Linked DNA regions of Homo sapiens: region 1 is linked to region 2. Evidence: promoter capture Hi-C in human tissues and cell types (Jung and others, 2019). All regions are on one chromosome and are shown on one strand. The core of a region is centred on a gene start or on the middle of the fragment in contact, and the rest is flanking DNA. Distances in the headings are between cores, read along the strand shown.

Region 1 (3,187 bases), core at 111-2,610, 150 kb after region 2:
AGCAATTCTCCTGCCTCACCCTCCCAATAAGCTAGGATTACAGGCACCTGCCACCATGCCTGGCTAATTTTTTTGTATTTTTAGTAGGGACGGGGTTTCACTATGTTGGCCAGGCTGGTCTGAAACTCCTGACCTCATGATCCTCCCACCTCGGCCTCCCAAAGTGCTGGGATTACAGGAATGAGCCACATTATTTTAACTTTTTAAATGGTTATCCCACTGTGATATCTCTGGAATTAGATCTCCCTTATTTCCAGATAAGGAGACTCTCTCAGTCAATGGTGTAGTAATGTAGTACTACTGTTTTGCCCACATGAGTATATAATGTCAGAATGTGTTTTACCTTTTAGCAAAATATAGCATTGGGTTCCCTTCTTTTGCTGTGTCAGAACTTCAACAGTCTTTTCTGTGTAAGCCCTCTTTTGCTGCACTTGGGAGCTTTTCTAACAGCCTGCTATGTTCTATTGTTGATGCAATGAATACAGCGAGATACCCACATTTTGTTTAAAGATAGTCACTGAGCTGTACCCTACTGCCAGCCTAGATGACTGCTTAATTATAGGCATGCTTTTCTAAAGGACATATATTTGTTATCTTCCATAAACAGGGAGACAGTAAAAGTCATTTGGCTTACCTTCCTAGGGATGAAGGTTCAGGAAGGGGAGCTTCATTCAGTGCTTCATGCTGTTGTCAACACTAACTTTACAGGTGACCCAGGAAATTGTGAAGTAGTTGGGGCCGTAGAACAGACTTCGTGCCACAGCACAAAAAATCTTATTACTTTTTTTTTTATTCCCTGTGTACTCGCTTTACAATTTTAGAAACAACTGATTTTTTTTTTTTTTTTTGCAATTTTGCATTAGATCAATGGTTTTAAAAATCTGGCCAAACATGGAAGCTCTTGGGACACTGAAAAACACAGATTTCTGGAAGTCACTTCAGAACAACTTAATTGGAAACACCCAGGAATGCAGCCCAGGGATCGGTAATTTGTAAAAGCTTCCCTGGGACACAAAAAGTCTTGGTCCCATTTCAGACCAGTTAAATCAGAATCCCAGGGGTGATGCCCTAGGATCAGGCATTCTAAAAACTCTCCAGGTAACTCTCATATATAACCATGGTTGAAAACTACTTCTCTATACTTTCTTCTACCTTTAGAAGTCAGCTTTGGGAGCTCTATTTTCTGCTTTAGAGGATTTAGCAATGTAAACTTAGCTTCTCAGTGGCAAATAGAGTCTGCCTGTCATTTGTATGTTCATATGTGAAGTGGTCCGGAAGTCAGTTGCAGAATCTGTACTATTAGAAGCTTAAATTTTTGGTATATTCAAACTTCATGATAGAGTCAAGAAAAATTATTTGCATATAAAAGGATCCAACATTAATATCTTCATTCTATCTCACTCCCTGCTATCTCATCTTCTGGTAGGAACTGCATATTACATTTAACGATATTCTTCCCCTTAGGTGACCATTAAAAAAAGAGCAACTATTTTTGTATTGTTTTGTAGATTTAGGGGGTAAAAGTGCAGTTTTGTTACATGGATATATTGCATGGCAGTGAAGTCTGGGCTTTTACTGTACCCATCGCCCAAATATTGAATATTGTGCACAAGATCAGTTATCTTTTTAATCAGAAACTCCGTCAGTGCTTACCTTATTCAAATGCATAAGCTGTAGTGGCATACATAGATGAATAGTTTTGGAGGGTATGTTTGGATTTCTTGTTGTTTCATTTGGAGAAAGGGTAGTTATTGGAAACATATTTTCAGTAAAGAAATGTGTTTCCTGTCCAGTCTAGCTCAGAAAATGCTGTCACACTGCACTTTTTCCACCATCCCTCTTGAGGCCTCAGCTCTACTTTTATGTATCCCTTAGCTGTATGGCTTTTATTATGAAATACTTGCCTCCCAACTAGACTGAATTTCTCAGCCAGGAGGCATTTGCGGACATTGTTTGATACCCCTCCCTCCCTACTAGAATCTAACATAATGCTGAACACAGATTAGTATGCCATAAATGTGTATTGAATCATTTATTGATAACCCTGACTGCCTTTTAAGGATGGTAGATCCTATTAAGTTGTTTTGCCATGTACCTGACAGACGATAACACGAAAATTGGGAGTTTGGAAGCCAGGAAGAGCTGAACTGATATGCATACTGGGAGAGGAACTTAGAATGAGGCCTGGGAGGAAGGTGTGAGGAGCATGAATGGGAGAGAGATAGGGTTAGGGGGACCAAGGAGATAAAAAAGGCCACTCAGGGAACAGAGGCCACTTCATATGACTTTCAAATGTTTCAGTAAGTCTTTGAAGTTCTGTTGCTTGGTGTATGTGAAGTTCTTGTAGAAATTGGCAGTGGCTTTGTATGCATCCTTCTTAACACAGTTGAAACTGAGACAAGATTCACTGAAGGAAGATCCAGCAGAGGCTGAGATACTACTGTGAAAGCATAACATGCCTCTTCTGCCAGGACATAGTATAAGGTATAAAATGGGTTTTGTATCTTCACAAACAAGAACTTGGTGGTATAAGCCAAGCTTAGCTGGCTTTGCGAAGTATAATGAGTCAAAAAGTGACCTTTCTCCTACTCCCATTCTTATTCCCAGTTGTATGGGGGTTGAACCATAAAATATTGCCATCTTTTAACTCAAAAATCATGAAATATAAGCAATTTTGTGACATCTGGGGTAGAATGACTGCAGTCATCCAATAGAAACTGTTGACATTAAGTCTTAGAAGTGTGAATCCCGCCTAAGCTTGGAGTACCCGGAAACTGCCTTCAGATACATAAGCTCTTTGAACTGGAGTCACTTACTCTGTAAGCCTCTTCACCCCCAAACTGTGCCACCCAAACTGGGTGTACATAAACCCAGTGGCCCACGCCCACTCCTCTTAATGCCATATTCACAGCCTGAGAAGGGATCTTCACATATATTCACATCACCACCCTACCTTTATCTCTAGTCACATGACACTGTATGCACTTTTATTTTTGGCTTTTTTCACTTAGCGTAATGTTTTCTTTTCTTTTTCTATTATACTTTAATTTCTAGGATACGTGTGCAGAACATGCAGGTTTGTTACATAGATGTACACGTGCCATGGTGGTTTGCTGCACCCATCAACCTGTCATCTACATTAGATATTTCTCCTAATGCTAACCCCCGCTAGCCCTCAAACCCCCTA
Region 2 (3,122 bases), core at 519-3,018:
TGTGTGGTTAGTTGAACTAAAAGAAGGCAGGAGAGAGCTCCAGAAGATGAAATACAAATGCTAGGTTTCTTTTACTGTCTTTCCAGGACCCAGTAAAGAGGGCAGTGAATGTTTCCATGAATATCCTCAATTGGTGTTGTCTGTTTGAAAGCATATTCTAAGTAGCTGGCTTCCCTTTACAAGATTGGAAGTAAAAATTAACCCACACTGAATTCCATGAATCATCAATACATGGATGCTCATAGAGTTTACTGAGAGTAATTCTGTCTCAAAGGCATTGCTTCTGAAACTAAAGATGAGAAATATATCAGTAATATTTATGGTACCAGAGCACACTATTTTCTAGGTAGATATTTTGAACCTTTACTTCTATTTTTGTTTTCACATTATCCCCTTTTCACTAAATTAGGACGGTTCTACTCATATTCATAGCCTGCTTTCACTGAAATTAGAGGCAGAGAAACAAGGACATATTGTTAAAAATGAATAAATTAGAGCCGAATTAAGCCATCCAGCTCAACAACAGCAAAGGGAATATAGCAGTTGGTTAGAACAAACAATTTTCTTAAATAGGAAATGTACTTTAAAGCCATCCTGCTGTGATCCTGTTAATTACCAAAGATTAGAACTCTTCTGGTTCATGGGATCCTTTCACCTAGTGTGTGGCAGTTCCAGCTGCATTAGCAATCAGACATTTGCACTGTCCCTTCAGACCAGCGAGGGGATGTTATTAAAGGGAAGTCATTTACCCCAGTCCGTAAGATGTAGCCTGGCAGAAATTCAATAACTGTTTGTGATATGCTCATTCTGCTACTCTGCTTAGTGGTTTAGCTCTTAACATACAACAGCATTTGCCTTAATTTGCATCCACTGGATGAGACAAAATAAAAATGCCCCATTTGGTGGGTTGATTTCAAAACAGAGAATAATGTGTGATCTGCTTTTCACTACAAATAATGTGAAGAAAAAGGAAAATTGCACCCCATCACCCGTGACTCTCCTCTCCTCTCTGTCTCCTCTCTGTCTTCTCTCTTCCCCATCTCCTTCTCTCTCCCTCTCCTCCTCTCTTCTCCCCCACTGTTCCCTTCTCTTCTGTCTCCCTCCTTTTTCTCCTCCCCCCAACACTGCTTTTTCTCTCCCACTCACATCCTCTAATGGGCATTCAAGCTAGTAAAATGCATGTTGGAGAATCTCACAAACACAGCTAGGCACACACAGAGCCAGCTGGGTTTTGCATGTGAATTTCTTCTCAAAAGTGCAATAAAAGAAAAATGCTCTTAGAATTCAGACAAGAAGAAGACATCAAAGGAGGATTTAGGTGTAAAAACATGATCATCGAAGAGACAAGAAATAGAACGTATTTTAAAATATATGTGTATTTTAAACTTACCTTGAAAAGCAGTTTCAGTGCTAGCCCACCTCCGATGTCCTTGCGTGCTGGATTCCTCAGTTCCTTGGTTGAGATAATCACATGGTTGTGTTCTTGCCCGGTATAAATAGGTGCATTTGTGTGTCTGTGTAACAAAGTGTACAAAATATATACTATAGATATGCACACATGCACGCAATCTTATCTCTCTATTTTAAAATATAAAGGAAGGCAGGAGGCTGCAGCCGGGATTCCTTCTTTTTCCTGGAACTCTTTTTCTCAGTCGGCAGGCTGAGGCTCTCAATCCAGTGAAGAGAGATCCTGTGAGCTGGCTTTATTTTTCCTTGTTTCCATGGTGGTTAGTGGTGCATCGTTCACCCGATCAGTTGTCACACTGACATGGTGCTGCCTGCTCAGCGGTCATTAATAACTGAACACCCTCCACTCCCCAGAGAGGAGCCAATCGCTTCAGACAGCCAAGATGTAGCACTCGCAGCTGCTCCAGTCTGGTTGGCTGAAACAAACTGTCTGTTCTATGACACTGCTGCTTAGGATACAAATAAATGAAACAGGCTTGCATGTTTTCCTAGGTATCATTTTCCTTCTTTTTTTTCCTTTCTGAGGGAATGTTGGGAATTTTTGACAAGTTTTCTCAATTTTAGGTTATCAGTCATTCAGAGAAATATGTTTTCAGTCTGCAAATAGAGAGGACACACTACTGATAAGGATTTCCTAAATATTAAAAACACCTGGTAGAGACTCAAACCTCCAACTCCGTCTCTGAAGTTCAGCAATGACTGCATTATTTAAGAAGAGAAGCTTGCAACTGTTTTGAGTGGCATTTGGTTCTCTATAGATCCTACTTAATTTAGCATATGTGCTTGGTGTTCAATAACACTTTTTTTTTTTTTTTTTTAGCAATGACATTTCTTGTCTGGATTGACCAGATTTTTAAAATAAAGCATATATTTGCCTCTCTGTAATTCACAACATTGGCATTTGAGGGGGTACTTTTTAAAAATATGTATTTCTAATTATACTCACTGACTTCTCTTTATATGATGTAATAAATCTAGGAGCTACATATGAATGGGTACATGTGTAGGTGTGTTTGTGTATCTGTGAGTGTGTGTGTGTATTTAGGATGTATTTTTTACCACTCTGGGGAAATATTTCGATTGTAATAAGTTAAATTATTTAAAAGACTATCTTTATTCTTAGGCCTATTAACTCTGAAAGGATATTTCCCAGGAAAATATACTATATAAGCCATACATGTAAAACATTTTTATTAATTACCAGAAATTTGGAAAACACAGAAACACATAGCAGTGCATATTTCTGAAAGAACATACATGAAAAATCAAAAAGCAGTTTTAAAAATGCATGTTTTACAACCTTAATTAGTATACTAGAGAAACATCTTGTTGAGGAGAATGGAACATGAGGATTAATATATCAACAGGTCAAAAGCAGGCTAGTCATGACTCCAACCCCAGTTTTGAGAGACTACCCTCTAGTGGAGTAAAGAGAAATGGCACTTATTAGATTTACTTAGGAAAAAAAAAACAAAACCTTCACATCTAATTGCTCCTTAAGTGCTTATTGACATGACATAGAACAATAGTTTGCAGTTATTATAATAATAATAATACCAGGAAAAATTTTAAACAGTAGGCTTGTCTTTAAATACTGAATATTTTCACTCTGTAGTTTTCTAGAAACAGTTCCCAAATGTTTTTTTCTATAAGAA

What was found. The method cuts DNA at HindIII sites, captures the fragments that hold promoters and counts their contacts. A contact is called where the count stands out against the background at its distance.
Region 1: a fragment that was not itself captured here is called in contact with the fragment with the promoter of LRRN3 in region 2 in 1 of the 25 tissues and cell types used here (spleen).

What each region holds. Positions count from the first base shown.
Region 1 is chr7:110,937,050-110,940,236 of GRCh38, reverse strand. The region is part of intron 4 of IMMP2L (inner mitochondrial membrane peptidase subunit 2); the gene reads left to right. Among named protein-coding and RNA genes, the nearest start is that of LRRN3, 150 kb to the left of the region's middle. The HindIII fragment of the contact is 5,017 bases long and covers 1-3,187 here.
Region 2 is chr7:111,089,773-111,092,894 of GRCh38, reverse strand. LRRN3 (leucine rich repeat neuronal 3) reads right to left here and starts at 1,768. Exons shown (of 3, transcript NM_001099658.2): 1 at 1,391-1,768. All of the region lies in intron 3 of IMMP2L (inner mitochondrial membrane peptidase subunit 2), which reads left to right. The HindIII fragment of the contact is 6,407 bases long and covers 1-3,122 here.